3 separate regions of the Homo sapiens genome follow, and regions 1 and 2 are each linked to region 3. The links are contacts of gene promoters, found by promoter capture Hi-C in blood cells and fetal thymus (Javierre and others, 2016). All regions are on one chromosome and are shown on one strand. Each heading gives the region's core, a stretch centred on a gene start or on the middle of the fragment in contact. The rest is flanking DNA. Distances are from core to core; before and after follow the strand shown.

Evidence for each region. Contacts are between HindIII fragments. The CHiCAGO score rates a contact against its expected background, and 5 or more counts as called.
Region 1: a contact is called between a fragment that was not itself captured here and the fragment with the promoter of TCL1A in region 3, in 1 of 17 cell types (naive B cells). The highest score is 7.8, in naive B cells.
Region 2: a fragment that was not itself captured here is called in contact with the fragment with the promoter of TCL1A in region 3 in 2 of 17 cell types (naive B cells and total B cells); the score reaches 7.0 in naive B cells.

The regions. Positions count from the first base shown.
Region 1 is chr14:96,008,147-96,012,201 of GRCh38, forward strand. No RefSeq gene overlaps it. Among named protein-coding and RNA genes, the nearest start is that of C14orf132, 29 kb to the right of the region's middle. The HindIII fragment of the contact is 396 bases long and covers 1,429-1,824 here.
Region 2 is chr14:95,984,362-95,988,538 of GRCh38, forward strand. No RefSeq gene overlaps it. Among named protein-coding and RNA genes, the nearest start is that of C14orf132, 53 kb to the right of the region's middle. The HindIII fragment of the contact is 628 bases long and covers 2,189-2,816 here.
Region 3 is chr14:95,712,352-95,716,425 of GRCh38, forward strand. It overlaps TCL1A (TCL1 family AKT coactivator A), which reads right to left and starts at 1,774. Exons shown (of 4, transcript NM_021966.3): 1 at 1,596-1,774; 2 at 1-45. The coding sequence starts at 1,715. LOC107984703 (a long non-coding RNA gene) reads left to right here and starts at 3,132. Exons shown (of 3, transcript NR_148060.1): 1 at 3,132-3,356. RefSeq lists enhancers at 1-134, 175-394, 1,509-1,558 and a silencer at 1,789-2,028. The HindIII fragment of the contact is 7,267 bases long and covers 1-3,941 here.

The DNA of each region.
Region 1 (4,055 bases), core at 377-2,876, 300 kb after region 3:
TCCTCAGTAAACTGACACAGGAACAGAAAACCAAACACTGCATGTTCTCACTCATAAGTGGGAGCTGAACAATGAGAACATATGGACACAGGGAGGGTAACAACACACACTGGGACCTGTTGTTCCCCTCCCTGTGGGACCTGTTGCGGAGGGCAGGGGAAGGGAGAGCATCAGGGTAAATAGCTAATGCATGTGAGCTTAATACCTAGATGATGGGTTGATCTGTGCGGCAAACCACCACCGCACGTTTAACTACATAACAAACCTGCATGTTCTGCTCATGTATCCCAAAACTTAAAATAAAATCAAATTAAAAAAAAAAAACAGAGAAAGGGATTGCCAAAATTGTAAAGAAAAAATCATATTTCTTTATACTACCAATGAAAAATTAGAACTTGAAATAAAAATAACAGTACATTTTAAATACTACCAAAAATATAAAATACTTGGGCATAAATATTATAAAATATGTGCAATATCTATACTCTGATAGCTGCAAAACACTAATGAAAGCAATGAAAGAAGGCCTAAATAAATGAAGAGGCATATATTGTTCATGAATGGAAGATTCACTATTATTAAGATGGCAATTATCACCAAACTGATATATAGATTTAGTGCGATTCCAATCAAAATCTCAGGCCAGGAGTGGTGGCACATGCCTTTAATCCCAGCACTTTGGGAGGCTGAGGCAGGAGGATTGCTTGAGCTCAGGAGTTTGAGACCAGCCTGGGCAACACGGTGAAACCCCATGTCTACAAAAAATACAAAAATTAGCTGGGTGTAATTGTGTTCACCTGTAGTACCAGCTACTCAGGAGGCTGAGGTGGAAGGATCACCTGAGCCTGGGAAGTCGAGGCTGCAGTGAGCCATGATCATACCACTGCTCTCCAGCCTGGGTGAGAGAATGAGATCCTGTCTCAAAAAATAAAAATAAAAATAAATTTAAAAATCCTGGCAGGACTTTTTTGTAGAAATTGGCAAAGTAATTCTAAAATTTTTATGGAAATTTTAAAAAATAACTAGAATGGCAAAACAAATTGTAAGAAAAGTAGCAAAATTGGAAGACTCACACTACCAGATTTTCAGGCTTACTATAAAGCTGGCAGTCAAGAGAATCTGCTATTAGAAAAGGATTAACATCTAGATTAGTGGAACAGACTAGAATAGACCAATACACATGTGGTCATTTGGTTTTTGACAAAGTCCCAAAGGCAACTTAATGGAGAAATGATAGTTTTTCTCAACAAATTGTTCTTGGACAATTGAATATCCCTAGGCAAATAAATGGATATGCCTCAAGGCATGCATTACCCACTATAGAAATATTAACTCAAAATAGATCTCAGGCCTAAATGTAAAGCCTAAAACCACAATACTTTTGGGAAAAAAAAATAGGAGAAAATCTTTATAGCCTTAATTAGGTAAAGCTTTCTTAAATACAACACCAAAAACATGACCCATAAAAGAAAATATGATAAATAGGGCCTAATCAAAATTAAGAACTTCTGCCCTTTGAAAGACACTTTAAAAAATGGAAAGACCAGCCACAGACTGGGAGGAAATGTTTGACATTACATGTCAGGTAAAAGACTTGTTTCTAATGTATAAAGAACTTTTAAAACTCAATAAACAAACAACTTTTAAAATAGACAAGATATTTAAATGGGAACTTTTATCAAAGAAGATATACAGATAACAAATAAGTATATGAAAAGATGCTCAATGTCCTTAGTCATGAGGAAAATAGAATTTTGGACCAAAATGAGATAAAGCTACATACCAATTAACATAACTTTATAAAAAGCAAACCTGATGACAGGAAGCTTAGGTAAGGATGAGGTGCAACTGGAACTCTCATACCTTGCTGTTGGGAATGCAAATGGTACAGACACTTATACTTTGGCATTTTCTCACTGTATGAGGCCATTCTTGCATTGCTATAAAGAAATACCTGAGACTGGGTAATTTATAAAGATAAGAGGTTTAATTGGTTCACGGTTCTGCAGGCTTTACAGAAAGCATAGTGCTGGCATCTGCTCAGCTTCTAGGGAGGCTTCCGGAAACTTACAATCATGGCAGAAGGCAAAGGGTAATCAGGCATGTCACATGGTGAAAGAAACAGCAAGAAAGAGAGAATGGAGAGGGGGAGGTGCCACACACTTTTAAACGACCAGATCTCATGTGAACTCAGAGCAAGAGCTCACTTATCATCAAAGGGATGGCTGAAGCCATTCATGAAGGATCTGCCCCCATTATCCAAATATTTCCCACAAGGCCCCACCTCCAACATTGGGGATTACATTTCAATATGAGATTTCAGTGAGGATGGATACTCAAACTATCATTCTATCCCTGGCCCATAAAATCTCATGTCCTTCTCACATTGAACAACACAATTATACCTTCCCAATAATCCCCCAAAGTCCTAACTCATTCTGGCGTAAACTCAAAAGTCCAAAGTCTCATCTGAGACAAGGCAAGTCCCTTCCACCTATGAGCCTGTAAAATCAAAACAAGTTATTTCCTCCCAAGATATAATGGGGGTATAGGCATTTGGTAAACATTCTCATTCCAAAAGGGAGAAATCAGCCAAAGAAAGGGGCTACAGGCCCCACGCAAGTTCAAAACCCAACAGGGCAGTCATTAAATCTTAAAGCTCCAGAATAATCTCCTTTGACTCCATATCCTGCATCCAGGCACACTGGAGCAAGGAGTGGGCTCTTAGGAAGCTCTGTACCTGCTGCTTTTCCATGCTGAGATTGCAAGTTACTGGTGGTTCTACCATTTCCACTTCTGGAGAGCTGCGGCACCCTTCCCACAGCTCCACTGGGTGGTACCCCATTGGGGACTCTGTGTGGGGACTCCAACCCCACATTTCCCCTTGGCAATGCCCTAGCAGAGGTCTCTCTGGGGGCTCCACCCCTGCAGCAGACTTCTGCCTGGGTATGCAGGCTTTCTCATACAGCCTCTGAAATCTAGGCAGAAGCTGCCAAGTATTCTTCACTCTTGCACTCTGCACACCTGAAGGCTAAACACGACATAGAGGATGCCAAGGCAGCAGGCTGAGCTGTATCTGGGTCCCTTTGAGCCAAGGCTGGAGCTGGAGCAGTCCAGATGTGGGGAGGAGTGTCACAAGACTGCACAGGGCATAGAGGCCCTGGGCCTGGCCCTTAAAACCATTTAGTCCTTCTAGGCCTCAAGGCCTGTGATGGGAGGGGCTGCCTCTTAGATCTCTAAAATGTCTTTGAGGCCTTTTCCTCATTGTCTTGGATATTAGCACTTGGCTCCCTTTCAATTATGCAAATATCTCTAACACATGATTGATCCACAGTCTGTTTGAATTCCTCTACTGAAAAAGCTTTTTCTTTCTTTGCCACATGGCTAGGCTGAAAATTTTCCAAACTTTTATCCTCTGCTTCCTGTTTCCAACTGTTCCAAAATTCCAACTTTTAAGTCATTTCTTTCTTTGCACATCTGAACATAGGCTGTTAGAAGCAGCCAGGCTATATCTTGAGCACTGCTGTTTAGAAATCTCCTCCACCAGCTCCTCTAGGTTGTCACTCTTTAGTTCTAACTTTCAACAGATCCCTAAGGCATGAACAAAATGCAGCCAAGCTCTTTGCATAACACACATGACCTTTGCTCCAGTTCCCAATAAGTTCCTCATTTCCACCTCAGCTGCTGGACTTCACTGTCCATATCACTGTCAGCATTTTGGTCACAATCACTGAACCAGCTTCTGAGAAATTCCAAATGTTTCCTCATCTTCCTTTCTTTTCCTGAGCCCTCCAAACACTTCCAACCTCTGCCTGTTAACCAGTTCCAAAGCTGCTTCCACATTTTCAGATATTTTTATATCAATGCCCCACTCCTTGGCACCAATTTCCCGTGTTAGGCCATTCTTGCATTGCTATAAAGAAATACCTGAGCCTAGATAATTTATAAAGAAAAGAGATTTACTTGGCTCATGGTTCTACATATTTTACAAGAAGAATGGTGCTGGCATCTCCTCAGCTTCCAGGGAGGCCTCAGGAAGCTTACAATCATGACAG
Region 2 (4,177 bases), core at 1,253-3,752, 270 kb after region 3:
TTCATGTTGTCCTAAAACACTACCATGTGTGGTGAAACCTGCCTATGGTTATTTCGGAAGCAGACCATGTGCTTACTAAATTGACAACTCTAGGGTTGGACTTGGAAAACATGTCTTCAGTGCTATGTGTTGGTTGCTATTGGCTGCATTCATAAGGTATTATAAGAAGAGATGAGCTTACAGTGAAAAAAAAGTTGGGAGGAGGGGAGCAGAGAGGGAGGAATAGAGAGAATCCAGAAATGTGAAGATTAGACCATGAAAAGCCAAGTGCTTCTGGATCCCAAACAGGAAGACATGGAGCAAAAAAGTCTTTAAGGTATAAAAGCTCAACCAAATTTCCCTGTAAAGATCAATTCATGGCAAAGATCAGAGTAAGGGCAGGATTTTCCTACCTACTACTCCAGATGACTTCAGTGGCGCGTCCATTGAGTTGGGTGGGGCACAGGGCAAGGGAGTGAAGAAATAATGCAGATTGAGAACCAGTTTTAAAATAGTTTTTTGGGTGCAGTTACTGATGCATGGATTTGGCTGGGAGCAAATAAATCACGAGTGTATAGCATACCTCAAAGATACTGTGGGTTTGATTTCAGACCACCGCGATAAAGTGAAAACCAAAATCAAGTGAGATACATGAATATTTTGGTTTCCCAGTGCATATAAAGTTATGTTTACACATGCTGTAAGCTATTAGGTGTGCAATAGCATTATGTCTAAAAATGTACATACCATAATTTTAAAATACTTTATTGCTGAAAACTGCTAACAAATCATCTAAGCCTTCAATGAATTGTAATCTTTTCATTGGTGTAGGGTCTTGCCTTGATGCTGAAAGCTGCTGACTGATCAGGGTGACGGTTGCTGATGGTTGGTGTGGCTGTGACAATTTATTAAAATAGACAAACATGAAGTTTCCCATATCGATTAACTCTTTTCTTCACAAAATATTCTCTGTAGTATTGTATGCTCTTAGATAGCATTTTACCCACAGTAGAACTTCTTTCAAAATTGAAGTCAGTCCTCTCAAACCCTATCACTGCTTTATCAACTCATTGTATGTAATATTCTAAATCCTTTGCTGTCATTTCAATAATATTCAAAGCATCTTCACTGGGAGTTGACTTCATCTCAAGAGATTTTAGCAATTCACTGATATCTTCAAGTTTCCCTTCTAATTCTAGTTCTCTTGCTGTTTCCACTACATCAGTAGTTACTTCCTCTGCAAAGTCTTGAACCCCTGGAAGTCATTCATGAGGGTTGAAATCAATGTCTTTCAAATTCCTGTTCATATTGATATTTTGACTTCCTCCTATGGATAAGGAATGTTCTTAATGACATTTAGAATGGTGAGTGTTTTCCAGAAAGTATTCAATTTACTTTGTCCAGATCCATCAGAGGATTCACTATCTATGGCAGCTATAGCCTTATAAAATGTATTTCTTAAATAATAAGACTTGAAAGTCAAAATTACCTCTTGATCCTTGGGCTGCAGAATGGATGTTGTGCTAGCAAGCATCGAAACAATATTCGTCTCCTTGTACAGCTCCATCAGAGCTCTTGGGTGACTAGGCTCGTTGTCAATGAGCAGTAATATTTTGAAAGGAATCTTTTCTTATGAGCAGTAAGTCTCAACAGGGGACTTAAGATACTCAGTAATTTATTCAGTAATCAATTTCATTAATTTCTCCTCTTCAGCTATGGAAGTCCTAGATGGCCTTTTCTTCTAGTAGAAGGCTGTTTCATCTACACTGAAGCCACCTTCATCAGTGGTCTTCTGGATAACTTGCTGCAACTTCTACATCAGCACTTGCTGCTTTCCCTTGCTCTTACATGTTATGGAGACAGCTTCTTTCCTTAAACCTCATGAACCAACCTTTGCTAGCTTCCAGCTTTTCTTCTGCAGCTTCTTCACTTCTCTCAACCTTCACAGAACTGAAGAGAGTTGGGGCCTTGTTCTGGGTTAGGCTTTGGCTTAAGAAAATGTGGCTGACTTGATCTTCTATTCTTATCACTAAAACTTTCTCCATATCAGCAATAAGGCTGCTTAGCCTTCTTATCTTTTGTGTGTTTACTGGAGCAGCACTTTTAATTTCCTTCAAGAATTTTTCCTTTACATTCACAACTTGGCTAACTGGCCCAAGAGGCCTAGCTTTTGGTCTGTCTCACTTTTTTTGACATGCCTTCCTCACTAAGCTTAATCATTTCTAGCTTTTAATTTAAAGTGACAGACGTGTGACTTTTCTTTTCACCTGAATGCTTCAAGGCCCATTGTAGGGTTATTAACTGGCCTAATGGCAATATTGTTATGTCTCAGGAAATAGGGAGGCTTGAGGAGAGGGGGAGAGATGATAGATCAGCTAATCAATGAAGCAGTCAGAACACATGCATTTATCAACTAAGTTCACTGTTTATGGCACCCCAAGACAATTGCAGTAGTGACATCAGAGATCATTGATCACAGATCACCATAACAGATATAATAATGAAAAAGTCTGAAGTATTTTGAGATTACCAAAATGTGAAACAGAGACACAAAGTGAGCACATGCTGTTAGAAAAATAAGACTTGCTGAACACAGAGTTGCTATAACCCTTTAATTTGTAATAGATGGAATATCTGTGAAGTGCAAAAAAGTGAAGTGCAATAAAATGAAGTTTATACTTGTGCTACATTTTTGAGGGTCATGTTACCAAAGAACCATACAGACAGACTGAATAAGACCTTCAGTCTTCAAGCCTTAAGGCTTGTACCAAACTTTTAGAACAGCAGTCCATAAGGAGGGCTTATTTCTCAATGCCTGATTCATGTGCTACCAAGGAAGCTTACAAAAAAAGAAATAACCTCATGGGTAGAACCAGGCTCATGGAGAAAAGTGAACAAAGCAGCATCTCTCAGAGAGCAAAACTAGAGCCTAATCATGGATGCCGAGGATATGGGCTTTCATGACGTCTGCCCAGTGGGATTTCAGAATTGCTATGGACAGTGACTCTATGTACTTCCCATCCTTCCCTTTTCCAAGTGGGAGGTGCCTATTGAGGCCATATTATCTCAGTTTCATCATTATATATTGGAAGCAGGGTTGGCAGGTGACTTTTTTTTTTTTTCCAGTTTTGGTATCCTTGGACCAAAAGGAGCCACATGCGAACTTGCTGGGAAGAAGGCCAGACATCACCCAGAGATCTGAGTTTGAACTGGATGTGGTGACTGGGGGAGATTTTAGAGGAGGGGTTGAGTGAGCTCTATGTGGGGGCAGAAAGAAATGAGAAGACAGTGATGAGAAGGGCACGCTCAGCAGAGATGGCATACACCAAGTATTCCATGTGCTTCTTTGCACTTCTCAGCCTCCCTTGCAGCTGGATTGAGACTGTGAATAATTATGGCCTGTGAATGCAAGTGGCATGTGTCTTTCTCTCTTGCAGAGGCAGTATATATCAAGTGACATACTAAAAAGTAGAAGAGACCCCCCTGAGCACATTGAACTTTACACAAGGAAAAACATAAACCTTTATTCCATGAAGTCATAGAGATTCCTGGGTTAGTTAGTTTCTGCAGCAGACCCTAGCCTGTCCTGACCAATATTCTGACTATGTGCTACTTTTCTTCAAGTCACTGAGTAGGAACAGATATTGAATAACAAAATAGCATGTTTAGGTAGTTATGAAGTTTCCAAATTTTAATAAAATTCTGATGCTCCTGGTCCCTGGACTTCTAGAACCTCTTCTGAACCAGTCTACAAGTTTGATTGCACTTATTTTTTCTGCTTTTATTTCTGAGCGTGAGGGAGGAGCTGGAAGACTCACTGATAGCTCTCTCTCCTCTTTCTCACTCTAGCCCTTCAGTAAACTGTGTGGGCTAGGTTTGGGGGGAACTTACATTATTTTATATTCTTTAATTTACTGAAATACTATGTATTTATATATAAATAATATACAACTGCATTTATAAATAGTATTATGCTAGAGGACACACTCACTGGACTTTCCTCTATACTCCCCAATCCTACATTAAGTTATATTCAGGTTTGAGGTCCCCCATGGGACTAGGTTGTTTCATTCCTTCATGCTTTGTCTGCACTCCTTCTTCTGTCTGGAACATCCTCTCTCCCCACCACCTTCTCCATACCCCAAACTCACCCGTTCATTTTCTCAAATTGGGCTCTCTCTGTGCTCCTGGGCTGACT
Region 3 (4,074 bases), core at 524-3,023:
GTCTTCCCGACGCAAGAGCACCCGTAACTGTAACCTATCCTTTATCTGAGGAGAAGAAAAGGACAGGGCATACTTTCAGGTTCCGCTTGCCAGGGCTTCTCCAGGCGCAGAAAACCGGAATCCCTCCTGCCAGCCATCCACCCATCTGGGCAGGGGTCCGAGTGTGAAATGATGGTCATCACTGTTCCCTGAAGCTCACTTCCTTAGGCCATGCATGCTCCTCTCAGGGACTCTGGCTGGGCCAGGACCACCAGCACACACACGTGTCTAGCCACCCAGACAGGGCCATGAAAGGCACACTTTTTTCTGGCGGGTTGCAGCGGCTCACACTTGTAATTCCAGTGCTTTGGAAGGCAGAGGCAGGAGGATCGCTTGAGGCCAGGAGTTTAAGACCAGCCTGGGTCACAGAGCGAGACCCTGTATCTACAGGAAAAAAAAAAAACAACAAAGAAAGAAAGAGAGAAAAAGAATACTGGCCTTTTCAATGATGTGAGGCAAAATCTGTCCCACAGTTTGCTAGTGGGTTATTTTTTGTGGAGCATGTATCATGATTTTATGAAAAACTGTCTGGTTCGTGGTTTTGGTGTCACGTTGAAGAAGAGATTTCTCAGAGATTTAAAAAAAGAAATCCACTGAATCTTCAAATTATTTCTTCAAATTTTGATTTTAAAAAAGTAAGTATTTAACTTGATTTTTAAAGTAAAAACATATTTAAAAAATTGAAATGCCAATAAAAATGCAGATTTTGTGGTGGTTAAGAGCCTAGAATTCCAACCCCATTACCTACTAGCAATCTTACCTCGGACAAATGTACATTTTTGTGCCTCAGTTTCCCATCTGTAGAGACACAGTCAACACTCAATAATTTTTGATTGCTACTGGACATACGTGTTCTAATATATTTTTTAATTTTTATGCTTTCTTCAGTGTATGTTTGGAGAGAGTTTGAACATTTTTTGACTCTTTTTCATTGAGTAAATCCAAATACTTGTAAAAGACTTATCTATTTCTTTAACAAAAACTTAACATGGATTAAGGACCCATCTTAAGGCATCACACATTAAAAAAGTCAATATTGATTCAATACCGGCGCTTATACTACGACATCACTTGTTAAATTTGTTTTCTAAATAAAGCCCAGAGGTAGTGGAAAATACTTCACACTCTAGGCCAGTGTTTGCTATGCCTGGTTGACCCTAAACTGTTGAGGGTTCTTTTTAAAAATACAGATTTCTGGGACCCACCTGAGATGATTCCGATAATCGGCCATATGGATGAGTCACTTAGAGATACCCATTTTTAAGGATTAGGACCCCGAAGCCCAGAAAATGCCTGCTGTAGTCAACATTATAGTCACACTCCACAGGCACTGGGTCCACCCCTTTGACCGACATTCCTTTGCGGTTTTCCCACCCTTCTTCCCTGCCTGGAGAACTCCTATTCATCCTCCAGAGCCCGGCTCAAAGTGGCTTCATCTGTGGGGATCCTCCCTGCCCCATAGTGAGTGCTCCTTGAGTCCTCGCCCTTCCTAGGGCATCCCAAGCTCCCAGGGGCTGCCCCTGCTGCCTCGCCATCCGCTCCAAAGCTGGCTGTACCTCGATGGTTAAGGGCAGCCAGGCGTGCTGCTTCTCGTCCAAATACACGAACTTCTCCCAGGCCCACAGGCGGTCCGGGTGGTCGGTGACTGCCTCCCCGAGTGTCGGGCACTCGGCCATGGCGTCCTCGGGCCGCCTAAGAAGCAAGAGCCAGAGCCTCTCAAGGCCGCTCGCTGGTCCCTGGGATGTGGGGCCGACCCTTTATATCCGGGCAGCATGCGGCCGCCACCAAGCGGCGGGGCGGGAGGACGGCCTTGGGGCGGGACCCCGGGTCGGGAGAACGACCTTGGGGCGGGGCGTAAGGCAGGATGGGGCGGGGTTTGTGGGGGTCTTGGTGGCAAGTGAGGGTCCCGCGCAGGCGCTACGTCCCGGCCTGACTTGCTCCCTGGAACGGTGGCAGCTCCTGGGAACGCAGACCCGGCCCCAGCTGGCCCGCGCCTTCCTCGAGGCCCCGGCCAGCAGCGACACCGACCGCCGCCCTCTGCTGCTGCTGGAGAGGCACCGGGGTGACCTTGGCCCTTTCTTCTTCTGGAAGACCCCCCCGCTTCCCTCGGCTGCCGGACCGGGACTCTGGGCCTCTGCTGGGAACTCACAGTCGACACCAGGATGCCCAGAGCCAGGACCCACTCCTCATCTTATGGGATCAGAAGAGACCCGCGCGGGCCTGAGTTAGGCCTGGGCTTTCCCGGGTTCCCTGGATCTCCACCAGCCTGTGCCTTTGAGTGTCAGAGTACGTTTTTTGGCAAAGGACAACTCCTGACGCTCCCTCTCCCTCTTCCATACACAAAGCATGCGTTTTCCACAGGTCTGATGTGCTGTGGACATCTAATAGCTATTACAAAATGGAGAATCATGGGTTTTTGCCCTTGGGCTTTGAGTTTACTAGTGAAAGCATAGTTCGAAATGAATACTTAAAAAGAAATCCCTCCTTCCACCCTAAGATCAATGGATTTGAAAAGTGCCTGGTTTATATGATCAAAACCACCCCTCTGTAAATTACAAGCAATAAGGAAAACAATTTCACTTTATTTTGCAGTAACGCATTCCCACTAAGGCAATTAAGAAAGTCATGCACAATGAAAAACATGTGAAACCAGCTCCAGCCTGGTTCAAACATCACCATGGGATGGAGTTTGGTGTCTCATCTTCCAGCTCTTTCCCAGTTCTCTGACCAGGCACTAAGAACATAATTTGTGATCCTTTGAAATATCACCAAAGTGGAAATTAAGAGATCTGATGAGGACATCTGATTCACCTGGCAGCTGGGTATCTGCCTCTTTGCCTATCCAGAGAGCCTAATTCCCAAGAAGGGGCTGAGAGGGCCTAAGGTAGTCGAGACATAATGGGATTTACCAGGAACACAACATAGAAGAGAAAAGCCAAGGGAAGTTGGGGGTGGAGTGAGGGCCCTTGAGCTCAGCAAACCTCTTTTCCACTGTAGCCCTTAGTGGTGTTAATATTTAATATGCAAACTTAAAGGTTTCATGCTGATTTTCCTGTGAATGGCTCTTGACTCCAGACCTAGATAGCCACAGAGCAAGATGACAAGCTCGCTAATAAGCTCTGTTGGGGAGGTCTCAGCCCAGGCCAGAGCTGTGAAGTGAGAAATAAGTCCAGTTTAAATAGTGCTGCTGGGATGGACTTTTGTGGCCAGGGAAGGGGTACCCAGGAGCCAGTGTGGCCACTGACCCAGCCTCATCAATGGCCCTAGGATCCAGAATGCCACAAACAATGGAGCAAGAATCAGATCTGTGTGTCTGGGTAAGCAGAATGTTCTGAGAATATAATTCCTTTTTCCTTCTTTTGTAAGAACAATTTATTTCTTCAGTTTTGCATGAGGGCTTCTTAATATTGAGCAAGAATATACATCATTATTGCGTGAGATTTAGAAAATTATTTGAGAGAGGGTTCCAATAAATGAAAATGAATTAAGGATGTCTGTGGAGTTCATTGGGCAACTTATAGAGCCCTTGAGCTTTTTTAAGTGAACATTCCACAAGAGGGGAAACAGTAGCTATTGCATAGTCTCAGAGCTGTCTCTGAGCCTCCGTGGCATGTTATCTGCCCCATCTAAGGGTTATAAAGGCCATAAGCCTAGCTTTAGAATTTTATGTTCCTTTCCAAGTCTTTGTTAGTCTGATTTCCCTGAGGATAAGCAAATGGATGTTTCACACAGAAAGCTACAGGAAGCAATCATTTTGACAGAATCCTTAATGGATGCGTTCATGTCCTGATTTAGATCTAGTTTTGCCTTTACCACGATCACCTGTGAACTTGACAAATCCTTTGCAACTTGGCCTCAGTGCCATAGTTTTGTAATGAATGGGGCAAAATACCTGCTCTCTAAGCTTGTTTCTAACTCAGTAGGCCCCAATCCTCCTATAACATTGCCTAGTGGGAGGAGGGAATAGTTAAGAAAAGAGATGGACAAAATATATGATGTTAGTTCAGGAATGCCTACAGTTTTTGGTACAGTGGC